2 separate regions of the Homo sapiens genome follow, and region 1 is linked to region 2. The links are contacts of gene promoters, found by promoter capture Hi-C in blood cells and fetal thymus (Javierre and others, 2016). All regions are on one chromosome and are shown on one strand. The core of a region is centred on a gene start or on the middle of the fragment in contact, and the rest is flanking DNA. Distances in the headings are between cores, read along the strand shown. Region 1 has its middle 19 kb from the start of MIR6069. Region 2 holds the start of RASD2 (RASD family member 2).

What was found. The method cuts DNA at HindIII sites, captures the fragments that hold promoters and counts their contacts. A CHiCAGO score of 5 or more calls a contact.
Region 1: a fragment that was not itself captured here is called in contact with the fragment with the promoter of RASD2 in region 2 in 2 of 17 cell types (erythroblasts and M0 macrophages); the score reaches 5.3 in erythroblasts.

Annotation. Positions count from the first base shown.
Region 1 is chr22:35,352,158-35,359,375 of GRCh38, forward strand. No RefSeq gene overlaps it. Among named protein-coding and RNA genes, the nearest start is that of MIR6069, 19 kb to the left of the region's middle. RefSeq lists enhancers at 142-1,017, 321-460, 961-1,020. The HindIII fragment of the contact is 2,468 bases long and covers 1,273-3,740 here.
Region 2 is chr22:35,536,996-35,543,868 of GRCh38, forward strand. It overlaps RASD2 (RASD family member 2), which reads left to right and starts at 3,836. Exons shown (of 3, transcript NM_014310.4): 1 at 3,836-4,505. RefSeq lists enhancers at 2,498-3,060, 3,061-3,623, 3,624-4,186 and a silencer at 3,308-3,527. The HindIII fragment of the contact is 7,504 bases long and covers 1,513-6,873 here.

The DNA of each region.
Region 1 (7,218 bases), core at 1,257-3,756, 190 kb before region 2:
TGTGATTCACCCGCCTCGGCCTCCCAAAGTGCTGGGATTACAGGTGTGAGCCACAGTGCCTGGCACTTCTTTAAAGGTCCTACCTCCAAATACAATCGCATTCTGATATACTAGGGATTAGAGATTCAACGTATGAATTCAAAGGGACGAAGCAGCCCTGTATTGCCCTCTGCTGCCCTCTAGGCCCTGGGTCCATTCTCCCAGACACACTGCTCTTTCGCAGGTGGCCACAGTGTCTTCAGAGGGGCTGCCACATGAAACACCCGCCTCCACTCCCTGCCCCCTGCCCCCTGCCCTAGTGGGAGTTTGAGGGTGGCTAGATTCATCCTAGGGCAGCCTAGCCTTAGATCCAAGGATTAGCCATGGGACCAGGAGCGAGCAGGGGTGCCGGCAGAGTGGAGGGAGATACAGGTGCTGGGAGCTGGGCTGGGGCTGCTCTCCTGGTCCCCATGTCCGCTTGTTTTTTCAGAGCAGACCCAAGCGGGTAAGCTGGCAGGTTTCACTTCCACCCACCCTGGTACAGGGCGAGACTGGAGGAAGCAGCTTCGCCGGGCCGAATCCTCACCCCTTGCCTCTGACTCAGGACTCCCGTGACGTCTTCCTGCCCCTGCTGCAGGCTGGCCCTGCACCCTCTGTGCACCGTGGACCAGGCTGGCCAGCAGAGGGAAGGAACCCAAGCTGACCAGGGCCCCAAATCCCCAGTGGGTCAGAGTCAGGTTGGCAGGGCACTTGGACCTCTTGAGGCGGGTGAGAAATGTGCAGACAGGGAAGTGGAGGCCCAGGGAGGGGAGGGGCCTGCCCTGACCAGTGTACTGCCTCCCTACCTGGTGCAGGGGCCCAGGAGGCTCTGTGTGCCAGCCCAGCCTGCCCGGGGAGGAAGCAGCCCCCACCCACGCACAAGCACAGGGAAGTCAGTGCAGGGTGGAGGGTGGGGACTCCTGGGGCCCCCTGTGTCAGGTCCAAGCACGGCCCAGGAGTCAGCCAACCGAGCTTCCAGCGGTGCACAGACACTGACTTCCTGTTTGATTTGGAGCAAGCCTTCTCCTCTCTCTGGGCCTCAGTTTCCCCATCTGTTAATCGGCTTGATTTAAGAGAGCGTAAGGCCCCTTTGCACTCTGCTTTTCTGCCCTATCAACCCCCAAATTCCATAATCCTCCTTCCAAAAAGGAAAGAAATACGAGGAAAGAAACTCAAATATCTACAAGAGAGGGAAGCAGGACCCCGGGTTTATCTCCCCTCCAGGACCAGCGGCGATAGGGAAACAACTGCCCAAGCTTCAGTGGGACCAATGGGTGGAGGCGGCCACCCACACACCCTGCTGAATGCCCGCACAGGAAGCTGACCGCCTAGGGGCAGGAGGGAAGCGAAACCCAAGCCGGGGACATCCTTGCACCTGCCCTGGGGTACCCCTAGGAAAGGGAAAAGCAAGTGGGTGAACTGAGGAATGGGGGTGCTGCCCATGCTCCCCACAGGACCCTGCCCTCACTGGAGCCCTTGGAAGCTCTGTTAAAAATGAATCTTCAGCCAGGCGCAGTGGCTCACGCCTGTAATCGCAGCACTTTGGGAGGCCGAGGTGGGTGGATCACCCGAGGTCAGGAGTTCAAGACCAGCCTGGCTAACATGGCGAAACCCTGTCTCTACTAAAAATGCAAAAATTAGCCAGGCGTGGTTGTGGGTGTCTGTAATCCCAGCTACCAGGGAGGCTGAGGCAGAAGAATCGCTTGAACCCGGGAGGCGGAGGCTGCAGTGAGCCGAAATCGCGCCACTGTACTCCAGCCTGGGCAACAAGAGTGAGACTCCATCTCAAAAAATATACAAATTAAAAAAAAAAAAAAGAATCTTCATTTTACAAAGGAGGGGGTGAGGTCAGAAAAGTCAACTAGCTAATCCAAAGCCACACAGCCGGCAAGTGGAAACATTGAGTCCTCTTTTCTGGGGAGAAAAGGTCCCTGGGGGATCAGGATGAAGTGCACTCTATTCTGGGCCTGGGGCTGCGCCTAGGTCTGCCTTGGGGCTAGAAAAGTCACTGTGTACATTATCTGTATGAGTAGCCCTGAGCCCTGCAAGCCACTTAGGCTGCAGAGGCCACTGGACCCCTGCAGGGAGAAGGCTGGCTGCTGAGATGGGGCCCTCCCTCAGGATCCCTTCTCAGGCCCAGACCAGTGCAGAGACTTGCCCAAGGCCACACAGCAAATTTGTAAAAGAACTGAAACTAGAATCCCGGTCCTCCATAGCACCTGCCCCGCAGGAGGTGGGCGAATGGAGGACAGCTGGGAAGTCTGTCTTCAGAAGGCCCTCCCCAGCACCCTGCACCGTGCTCTGGGCTCCCACAGAACTTTCAGCCTCAGAGACCAACTAGGCCAGTGGGTTCTAAAACCTTCTCTCCCCAAGGAAATCTTCTATCATGGTCTCTCCCCAAGACTATGGATTTAGAAGAGTTTTGTTTGTTTTGATTTTTGGCCACAAAACATTCCACAATGCATTGAGTTGTTAATATTTTTCCCTTTTGGGCATCAGTAATCAAGACTTTTTTTTTTTTTTTTTTTTGAGACAGAGTCCCGCTGTGTCCCCCAGGCTGGAGTGCAGTGGCGCAATATCGGCTTACTGCAACCTCCGCCTCCCGGGTTCAAGTGATTCTCCTGCCTCAGCCTCCCAAGTAGCTGGGATTACAGACACATGCCACCACGCCTGGCTAATTTTTGTATTTTTAGTAGAGATGGGGTCTCACCATGTTGGCTAGGCTGGTCTCGAGCTCCTGACCTCAAGTGATCCACCCACCTCGACCTCCCAAAGTGCTGGGATTACAGGTGCGAGGCACTGCGCCCGGCAGTAATCAGACTTTTAATACACCAATGCAGTATCTCGTTCCATCCAAAAGTGCTCCAGTTGCCTGGGCAGCCTCATCTGAGGGAACTAACAGCACAGCCTCTGTTTGCCCAGCCCCTCTGGGCCCACCCACTGTTTGGAGCAGAACCCCAACCCAAAAGGGCAGGAGCTGAAGATAGCCATGCTCACTGCTGGCCAGGGGCTCCCCCACGGCTCCTGCCAGCCTTGGCCTTCACACGCATTGGGCATCTCCATCGACGGCCACCCTGGCTTCTGCACCGTCCCCACGTAAACATGGCTCTGCCCTCCCATCCCCTCACCTCAACTCTGCAACACAGGGACCCAGGAGACAGAGGCAAGGAAGGGAGAGTGAAGGAGCTGGCCATACCCTCCTGAAGTGCTAAGGGGAGGGAGGAGGGGATATCAAATTCGATGTGAGATTAAACTTCAAGACTGGACTTTTTTTTTTTTTTTTGAGATGGGATCTCATTCTGTCACCCACGCTGGAGTGTAGTGGCGCTATTTCGGCTCACTGCAGCCTCTGCCTCCTGGGTTCAAGTGATTCTCCTGCCTCAGCCACCCAAGTAGCTGGGATTACAGGCGTGTGCCACTATGTCTGGCTAATTTTTGTGTTTGTAGCAGAGATAGGGTTTCATCATGTTGGCCAGGCTGGTCTGAAACTCCTGAGCTCAAGCAATCCACCCACCTCGGCCTCCCAAAGTGCTGGGATTACATGTGTGAGCCACTGCGCCAAGATTGGACTTTTTTGTACTTGAAAATGACAAGAAAGTTAGCAAAACCACCCAAGATGTCACAAAGGACCCTGGTGGAGGCTGGGCATGGTTGAAGACAATGGTTGGAGAAAAGGAAGCTCTCTCATGTCCATGTTTGTGCACAGGGACTTTGGATCTGCAAGCTTGGGGAGGGAGCTGGAGACAGCTGGACTGCTCTGCTCTTAAGAGGGAGGTGAATCCTACCGGGCCATCTGGAAGAGGGCCTGAGAGCACAGAGACAAGAACGGGGAAAGGGAAGAGAGAGAAGGCAGGAGAGGGTGAGCTACTGGGCCCCAGGCAAAGAGTTGGGGGAGGATCAGAGGTCAACTACTGGGGTAGAGGGAGGGAAGGGAGAGGAGTAGCCAAAAAAGATTCGGAAGAACAGATGCTGTATTAGATTGTTCTCTAGGTTCTGTCTAATGTCACCCCTCTCTGTGGCCCTGAGATCTTTAGTAAATGCTCTGCTCATAAGTATTTGTCAAGAGTAGGGTTTTGGGCCAGGCATGGTGACTCACCCCTGTAATCCCAGCACTTTGGGCGGCAGAGACGGATGGATCACCTGAGGTCAGGAGTTCGAGACTAGCCTGGCCAACATGGTGAAACCTCATCTCTACTAAAAATACAAAAAATTAGCCAGACGTGGAGGCGGGCGCATGTAATCCCAGCTACTTGGGAGGCTGAGACAAGAGAATTGCCCAAACCCGGGAGGTGGAGTTGCAGTGAGCAGAGATGGCGCCATTGCACCCCAGCCTGGGCGACAGAGTGAGACTCCGTCTCAAAAAAAATAAAAAAAGAGTAGGGTTTTGGGGAACTGGGGAAGGAGCAAGTTTCATGTCTGAGTCAGCACAGTTCAGAGCAGAAATAGGAAGAAGCTGGGACAGCAGGGTGGGGGAAGTGGTGAAAACACAAGTACCAGGGATTGCCGGAACCTTCAGGAGGACTTTGGGCTTTTACTGGACGTGAAGTTAGGGGAGGACTCTGCCCTTCCCTCAGTGACTTCTTCACATGCTGCCAAATACATTTCATTTTTTTTTTTAAAGAAATGGGGTCGTGCTCTGTTGCCCAGATTGGAATGCCGCGGCATGATTGCAGCTCACTGCAACCTCGGCTTCCCCCGTCCCCTCTCCCCTACCCCCTGCTCAAGCGGTCCTCCCACCCAGCCTCCTGAGTACCTAGGACTACAGGCACATACCACCACGCCCAGCTAATTTTTATTTTTATTTATTTATTTTATTTATTATTATTTTTTTAGAGGGAGTCTTGCTCTGTCACCCAGGCTGGAGTGCAGTGGTGTGATCTCGGCTCACTGCAACCTCCACTTCCCGGGTTCAAGCAGTTCTCCTGTCTCAGCCTCCCGAGTAGCTGGGACTACAGGCGCGTGCCACCACACCCAGCTAATTTTTGTATTTTTAGTAGAGACAGGGTTTCACCATATTGAGGTCAGGATGGTCTCGAAGTCCTGACCTCAGGTGATCCACCTGCCTCGGCCTCCCAAAGTGTTGGGATTACAGGCGTGACCCACCACGCCCAGCTGTCATTTTTTTAAAAAATATTTTTGCAGAGATGGGGTCTCACTGTGTTGCCCAGGCTGGTCTCCAACTCCTGGGTTCAAGTGGTCCTCCCACCTCAGCCTCCCGAAGTGCTGGAATTACAGGCATGAGCCACTGCACCCAGCCGAAAATATATTTCAAAGGGCAAATCCGACCATGTTTTACAATACCCACACCCCCAAAACCCAACACACACACCTAAAACCTTTCACTTGCTCTCAGGCTAAAGACCCACCTCCTGGCCTGGCCTCCAGGGCCCCTGGAGTCTGTCCCCTGCCACATTCTTCAGGTTCTCTGCACTCCAGACAGGCTGTCTTTCCCACCTCAAAAGTTTCATGCTGGGCTGGGCACAGTGGCTCACGCCTGTAATTCCAGCATTTTGGGAGCCTGAGGCATGTGGATCACGAGGTCAGGAGATCGAGACCAGCCTGGCCAACATGGTAAAATCCTATCTCTATTAAAAATACAAAAATTAGTAGGGCGTGGTAGTGCATGCCTGTAATCCCAGCTACTCGGGAGGCTGAGGCAGGAGAATCACTTGAACCTGGGAGGTGGATGTTGCACTGAGCTGAGATCGCACCACTGTACTCCAGCCTGGGCGACAGAGTGAGACTCCATCTCAAAAAAAAAAAAAAAAAGTTTCATGCCCTGACCACAGGGCCTTTGTATGTGCTATTTCCTCTAAAACAGGCCACCTGACTTAACTCATTCATCCTTCAGGGCTCAGCTACTGTGTCACCTCCTCAGACAAGCTACTCTAACTTCCTGACTGGTCATTCATCCGGCACAATGGAATCCACCTGCACAATTACGCTGGCAAAGAGGAATGGGATGACCACAGGATGGCTTAGAATCTCTGCCTCAGAGTAACCATGACTCACCTCTGGCACTGGGCACACCCTCCCTAAATCTATGATTCCATCTGGATCCCAAACAAATTGGGGTTCTGTTACCTAGGGGAAGAGGAGATGGCTGTTGAGTAGACAATCAACAGTGTCCACCACATTGCCATACACTGCACTCCCCAACCCAACCTCACTTGCAGAGGAGGAAGGGGGCTCGTAGACGTTTCTGGAAGGTGATGGCAGGAGCACGAGTGAGAAGGAAGTTGCCCTGCCTGGGCACTGGTCTCAGACTGGCCTGACAAGATGGGAGGTTGTGTGATGTATGATGAAGCCTCACTATTGGACAGTTTGTTTTTGATACAGGTAACTGCCAGTCATATCATGACCTCTGGGACACACACATACTAAAAAAAAAAAAAAATACACAGGAAAACCTCCCAGCTTAGTTAGCAATATGTAAGGCTTTTTGTCTCCCCCTCCAACAAAAACCTCATAAAGACTCACGTAGAGTCAGACTGATGGTGCTGTTTCAGCCAACCCGTATCCCATGCTTGCATACCTCCAGTGACAGGGCACTCACCACCTTCAATAGGAGCCATCTCACCTGGCCAGCCCCCCGACACTGATCCATAAATTAAGCTATAAAATCTAGTTGGCATATTGTTTAATGGGTACAGAGGTTTAGTCTGGGATGATGGAAAAGTTCTGGAGATGGATGGTGGTGATGGTTGTACAGTGGGAATGTACTTAATGCCACTGAACTTTACACTTAGAAGTGGTCAAAATGGGCCAGGCGTGATAGCTTACTCCTGTAATCCCAGCACTTTGGGAGGCTGAGGCAGGTGGGTCACCTGAGGTCAGGAGTTTGAGACCAGCCTGGCCAACATGGCGAAACACTGTCTCTACTAAAAATACAAAAAATTAGCTGGTCATGGTGGTGCGTGCCTGTAGTCCCAGCTACTCAGGAGGCTGAGGCAGGAGAATCACTTGAACCCGGGAGGTGGAGGTTGCAGTGAGCTGAGATCATGCCATTGCACTCCAGCCTGGGTGACAAGAGCGAAACTCCGTCTCAAAAAAAAAAGAAGTGATCAAAATGGTAAATGTTATGTATATTTTACTACAATTAATTTAAAAAACCACACACACACAAGCACCATCTCTCAGGCTTCACAACTTACCAGCTGTGTGGTTTTGAGCAGGTTACTTTTTTAAAAATCTGATTGG
Region 2 (6,873 bases), core at 2,586-5,085:
TTGGTATCTTTTAAAAGCTCCCCTAGGTGATTCTAATGCGCCGCCAGCATTAGGAACTGCTGTTCTAGAAAAGCAGCCTGACGTGTGCTTTTTTTCCTATTGGAATAATTTCTCTTGGACCCCAGCTCAGCCTCTCATTAGCTGCCTGGTTTTGAACAGTCTCCCTGAACCTCAGTTTCCCCTTCTGTAAGTGGGGCTGTTAGGAGGACTAAGTGAAACTCTGCTTCACTGTGTCTGTCCACCCTTCCCTGTGTCCAAGGAGAGCTTGTACGTTTCTTCTGCTCTGAGACTGTTTGGCTGAACACAATTCAATAAGCATTTATTAAAAACTTATAATGTGTGAGATGCTGCCCTTAATGATGTGAGAATAAAAGGATGAATCAGGCTCGGTCCCCACTCAAAAGAGCTCACATGCTAATGGGGGTGACGAGGCATGTGTCCAAAATATGAAGCAGGAAGTAACACCGGCTACGGAGGAAGTAATCATGGTGAAGGCCATTATGTGTGAAGCACTTCGCAGTTTATTTTAATCCTCCCAACAACTCCACGAGGCAGCTACTATTGTAACACCCACTTTTACAGGCCAAGAAACTGAGGCTTAAAGAGAGGACCAGTTACCCACAGCACAAGAGCCAGGCTTTGGTGCTGTGGGAGCCCAGAGGAGGAGATTCACACCATTAGAAAGGCTGGGAGTAAGTTTTGTGGGGAGAAGTGTGGACACAGTGCTTTGAAGAATGTGTAGGAGTTTGATGGGTAAATACAGAGAAAAGGGTATCCCTGATAAGAAACCAGCATACACAAGCTCAGAGGAGGGATAGCTTCTCTTCTTTAGAGACCCGGAAGTGATTTGATTTTGCTGGAATGGAGGTTGAGTGCAGGGCATGGTGGGAATCACGTCCTGGTTGGAGGCCTTGTTCGCTAGGATAAGGAATTTAGATTTTTAGACTTTATATCTTTTTTTTTTTTTTGAGACAGAGTCTTGCTCCGTCGCCCAGGCTAGAGCACAGTGACACGATCTCGGCTCACTGCAACCTCTGCCTCCTGGATACAAGCAATTCTCATGTCCCAGCCTCCCGAGTAGCTGGAATTATAGGCGCACACCACCACGCCTGGGTAGTTTTTATATTTTTAGTATAAAATTATTATATTTTATATTTTTAGTAGTAGGGTTTTGCTATGTTGGCCAGGCTGGTCTCAAACTATTGGCCTCAAGTGATCCTCCCATCTTGGCCTCCCAAAGTGCTGGGATTATAGGCGTGAGCCACCACACCCAGCCCAAGATTTTATATCTTAAGCAATGGGGAGCCCTTGAAAACTCTTGAGCAGGAGGTGGCAGTTTTAGAACAGGGCTAAAATGGTCACAGGTTATATGGGAGAGAGAGGGTGACAGGGAGCCCAGGGACGAAGGGGGCAGCTATGACAAAGGGTCTGATGAGGGATGATAAAGCAAGTGGGTGGGGAGGGGGGAAGGGGAAAATAGGCACATGTGAGAAGTGTGCTGTTGCTACACAAAGCTTCCTTGGGCATCAGTTGATCCCTTATGTGTATTTGCTTATTGACTGAGCCCTACCATACCAGGAGTGGGGGAGGGCAGGAGCAGAAGACAGAGGCTGGGGCAAGTGGACCTCCCAGGGTTCTCACTCCACATGCAGCTCCCCTCGCGACTGGGATATGGTCAGTGGGACATGACCCATTCTGTTGAACAACTCTGCAGAAGCAGGGAGCAATTGGTTCTTGGGCCGTCTGCTACATTTCCGTGATGGAGGTGGCAGAGCTGGCCCAGCGACCTGAGTCTTCCTGACCCCAGCCTTCCAGGTGAAGCGTGCCACCCTGCTCACCTCCCACTGCCAAGTTCACTGCCAGCTCAAGGCTCACAGCCTGTGTGTGTCATGCCCAGCACAAACCCTCCCGGGCTGAAGCCAGTTCCCAGAGGCAAAGTCTGGATGTGGAAAATGCACCAGGCTGCAATCCTGCCACTTGCCACCAGGTGACTTTGGGCACATCCCCTTAGCCCCTCTGTGGCCTAAATTGGGGCATTAAACACAATCAGGTAGTACAGGTACTGCACCCTCCACCCCCACCTGCCCCATCCTCTCTGGTTAACTTTCCTGGAGAATCTCAAGATGTTACAGAGACAAGCAAAGCAAGTCACTTTCCATATTCAAAGTCCCAGGCCATTTTAGTACTTCTGTCATTCTGTGGACCCATCAATATCATACCCATTTTAGAGATGGCACAACCAGGACCCAGAGACTTTTCATGACGGCCCAGGGTCAGATATCTAGGTAGTTACGGAGACAGGACTTGAACGCCAGTCTCTCAGCCAATGGAGCTGACCCCTCAGGTGCCCTCCCAGACCCCTGCGTCCTCTCATGAGGTAGGGAGGCCAGATCTGGGTTGGGGGTGAGGCTGGCAGACATCCCTGAGGTCCAGGGATCTGGAACTGAGGGACACAGACACAGCATCCCATCCCTTTGCTGTATCACACAACGAGAACATTCTCTTTTAAGCCTCCTGATATGTGAAGGAGAAAGTCTCTGTTAGGTGCTAATGGGTATTTAACACCTCTCCAAACCTTGCCAATCTCCCTTTTTCACTGAGGGCACACATCTCAAGCCTTGGCAGGCCACGGTTTCCAGCTGGAATTTAATAACCTTGCTTTGTTTTCACTGTGCTTATTTTAACTCTTACTTTCTATTTATGGCAAGTGATACTGATTTCCCATTTAAGGCAGTGATATAATGATTCTCTAAAAAAACGTGTTTAAGGGGTGGGGAAAGTGGATCTGATATTTTAAAAAATATATTAAGTAATAAGTGGTGTGGAGATATGGCCCAGTGAGAAGGCCCGATGTCTGGCCTAGGTCAAGCCCCTCATTTAAAGGTGGGGAGGGAGAATGCAGGCAGGAGACGCAATGCTCAAGGCACCTGGTGTGTCCCCGTCGGCCGTGGTCTCTGAGACTCGCATGCCTCGAAGACCTCTGGCTACTAAGCCTAGGTGACTCCCCGCCCCTCTGGGCGACACGTGCATGGCCCATGTGCCAGTCCGCAGGGTCCCGTGGGCACCGTGAGCTCGGGAGGGAGGCGGCGGCTGGGACAGGCAGGTTGGACACCTGGGAGGGCACCCGGGGACTTCCGCGAAGGAGGAGGGCGCTGGAACCGTGGCGCGCTCGACCTGGCCGGGCGCAAGCCGCTGGAGACCCCGGCCGAGTGGGCAGGCGGCCGGACCCCATGCGGGTCACCTGCGGCCAGGCCGGGCGTGCGTGTGAGCGCGTGCGCAGACGTCAGCCTCCGAGGCCCGGGCCGCCTTCTGGGCAAGGTGCGCGCGCCCAGCGGCCCCGGCCCCACGCGCCCGGACACGCGGAACCGCAGACCGCGGCGCCCCGGAGGCCGCGAAAGGGATGGGCGGGGCCGGGCCGCGGGACCCGCCTCCCATTGGCCGGGCGCCGGGGCGAGGCGGGGCGCCGGGGTGGGGCGGGGCGAGCGGGCTCTGGGGGGCAGACGCTGGCGCTGGGCGGCGGGAGGCGCGGCTCGCGGGGGGCCGAAGGAGCAGGTGGGCGACGCTCGCAGGGGCGCGGGAGGGTGCCGCTGGGACCGTCATCAGGAGCCTGGGGTTCTGCCACCTTTCGGAGGGATCAGCGACCTCTTCGCCCTGCGGGTGACAGTGGGGCATCTGCCTGCGAGAGGGGGAAGGAGGGAGAACCCAGGGCCACACACAAAGTTCTCCTCATCTGGGGACAGGAGGAGGTGAAGGAGGAGGAGCCGGGTTGATGCTAACTTGGAGCTGCGAAACCTTGGGGCGGCGTTCAAGGCCCCCTCCCACACGCGCGCAGAGCAGAGCGCCCTGCTCCTCCTTCAGCTGCTGGCGTCGCCGCGCGGGGAGAAAGAAGCCGTCCCTCCGGCGCTGGGAGAGCTGCAGAGCCGCGGGCAGAGAAGGAGGCCGCGGCCGAGCCCGGCAGCCCGATACCCCCCATCCGAGCGACCCCCTTTGGGGCAGGCGGAGAAGGTGGCATAGGCGACCAGGAGGGTTCGCCCACCTGGGACACGCACCCACAGTCACCTCCAAAGGACCCCCCCTCCCCAAGTCTCTAGGAGCTGCTCCTTCATCACTGGAGTCGCCCCTACCTCTCTGCCCCCAGCCCGAGAGCCCCAGGCGGGGACCCCCGGATCGGACGTCCCCAAGCCTCCGGGCACCTGGCTCAGCAGGAGGCCCCCGGCTCGGGGCAGGGCAGGGCCGGCGGCGGCGAGCCGGAGCCCGCCCCCTGCCCGGGCCCCGCCGAGCCCTCGGAGCCCACCCATGGGGCACCTGCCCCTTGCGCCTCCTTGCCCGGCCGCGCCCAGCCCGGCGTCCCGAGCAGCGCAGGGGAGGATCCCCGCGCAGTGACCCGGGAGCCACCACAGACTCTGGGAGGCTCGGCGGCTGGAGCAGCAGGCAGCTCCCCGCAGCTCCCGGCGCTTCCAGGCAGCTCTCTGAGCCGTGCCAGAGGCCCGGCCCGCCATTCCCAGGTAGGAGACGCCCCAACAGAGCTGGGCATCTGGGGGAAGTGGAGCAGCCGGGAAGAAAGGGTAGAGGCTTGGAGGAGGAAAGCTCAGTGATTCCTTAGATGACCAGAGAAAGTGAAATTGATTGAGCACCTACTATGTGCCGGGATCGTCTGGCAACTTTGCATACCTAGAGAGAATTAAATTCGTTGAGCACCTACTGTATGTGTCAAACTGAGTGCTATACCCTTGACTTAATCCCAGGAAAGAAAGATTTATTGAGCTTCTACTATGTGCTAGTTTTGGTGCCACAGGCTTTGCATTTAAAGAGCTAGAGTAATAGCCCATTTAAATAGGAGGAAACGGGGGCTCAGGGAAGACGAGTCAACTACCACAAACACTCCTGTCCCTCTTCTGGAGCTGGCTGCAGCCTGCATTACCTGGAGGTGGGGAAGGAAGATTAAGAAGCTCCTTCGTTATCCAGAGTTCTTGAGCTTTTTCTGGGTTGGTGCAGAGTGAGTTTCCTGGATGATTCCCTTCCCAGGAGGGGTTTCCTGTAACTTAGCTGTCTTGGAGGGCCCGGAAGGCAGCTCTGGAGGCCTCTCTGTGCCCTCCCCTCCCCTTGTCCCCAGCACCAGGAGGATGACAGGGGATGTTGTCCAAGACCTCATGGAAGGTGGGAAGCCAGGCTGGGAGGGAGCAGCCAGGTCAGGAGCCAGTGAATCAAGCCTCCTGTGGTGTCAGAGACAAGATGGGGTCCCTGCAAGACCTGCGCCTGCATTCCAGTCCAGCCTCACCAGGCTGCTCTAGGCAGCCCCACGACTGCCAAGATAAAGTGCCACGAAGAAAAGAACCCAGCATGTGTTCAGGTTTGCTGCGGGTCAAGAGCTGGGTCAGCCTCCAGACTTATTGGAAACCCAGGGCCACACAGGGGGTTTATGTCTTACCATTAACAGAGGAATAACCTGAGCCCCAGGAAGCCAAGTCATTTGCCCAGGGCTGCCGGGCTGGTGAGAGGCAGAGTTGGCCTGCCAGAAGTGGATGCCTGCCTACCTTCTACCACCTGAGCTGCCAAGGGTGGTGGGGTTGGCTTTGCCAAGCTCCCGGACTCTCAGAGTGGCAGCTGGAAGCCAGTGATGGCAATGTGCGTGTCCAAAGAGGCTGAGTGTGCACTGATGGAGGAGGCATGGGGGTGTGGAGGAGGGGCAGTGCAGTGAAACAGGCTCTGGGGCATACACCGGGAGGACACGTCCAGACTCTTGTCCTGCTGCCTGTGCCCGTGTGACCCCTTCATCTTTCAGGCAGGCCCTGGGAGAGAGGCTCAAGGGAGAAGTGGTGAATCCACAGGTGCACTTGCTCAGAGGTGGCTGGCAGGGTTAGGGGAGAATCCTGGGAGGTGCCTGCCCCCTTTCCGCTCCGCTGCCTGCAGGGAGAGAGGGAGTGAGAATATAGTATGTCTCGGCGTCATCCCCCCGCCTGATGCCAGCTGAGGCTTCACTGAGACAGACAGTGTTTTGGAAAAGACCAGTTTTGGCTGGGGGTGGGTTTTCATAGAGTTAAGAGCCCAGACTTTGAAGCCAAACAGCCTGGTTCTGATCCCAGCCCAGCTAGTCATCTGCTGTGTGAACTGGGGCAAGTGACTTAACCTCTCTGAGCATCAGTGTCCCCATCAGTCAAGTGGGCTGATGGATGCCTTCCTGGCTGTGGTTACTGTGCCCCCAGGATGGCGTCCCCTCATCTCTGCTCTGGGAACTTTCTGGCTTCCACCTGTCCTCAGAATGGCCCTGTGATGGGGTCAGTAGTCACAGTATGTGCATTCAGATACCTGTGCCGCTAGGGGGTCTCCGTTGAATTTCCTGCCTCTCTGAGCCTCCTCTCTCTGATTCCTTACTTCCCCTCTCTGATTCCCTGCCTCCTCTCTCTGACTTCCTGAAATCCATTCAGTCACTGATATTGGACTCTAAATTCCCAAAGGGCTCTTCAAACTCATCCCTGTCTGCTCCTCGCTGTATGAGGTCAGCCTGGCTGAGGATGGAGAAGGGAGAACAGGCTGCAGAGGAGAGATGTGCCTACGAGGGTGCCCATGGTGCCACCTCTGGGGGAAGAGAGGGAAGAAAGATGTGGAGGCAGGAGGCGGAGCCCACAGAGGCACTGTCCCCTGGCGTCCAGGTGTCCAGATGTCTCACACAGCCCCACGTGGCTCAGGCCATGTGAAGAATCAGTCTTCTCTCAGAGATAAAAACCACAGAGGATTTTTTTTCTCTTTTTCCCCACCCTGATTCCCTGTCTCTTATTTCTGACTCCTTGCCTCCTCTATCTGTCACCTTGCCTCCTCTCTCTGACTCTTTGCCTCCTCTCTGACTCCCTGCCTCCTCTCTCTGTCTCCCTGCCT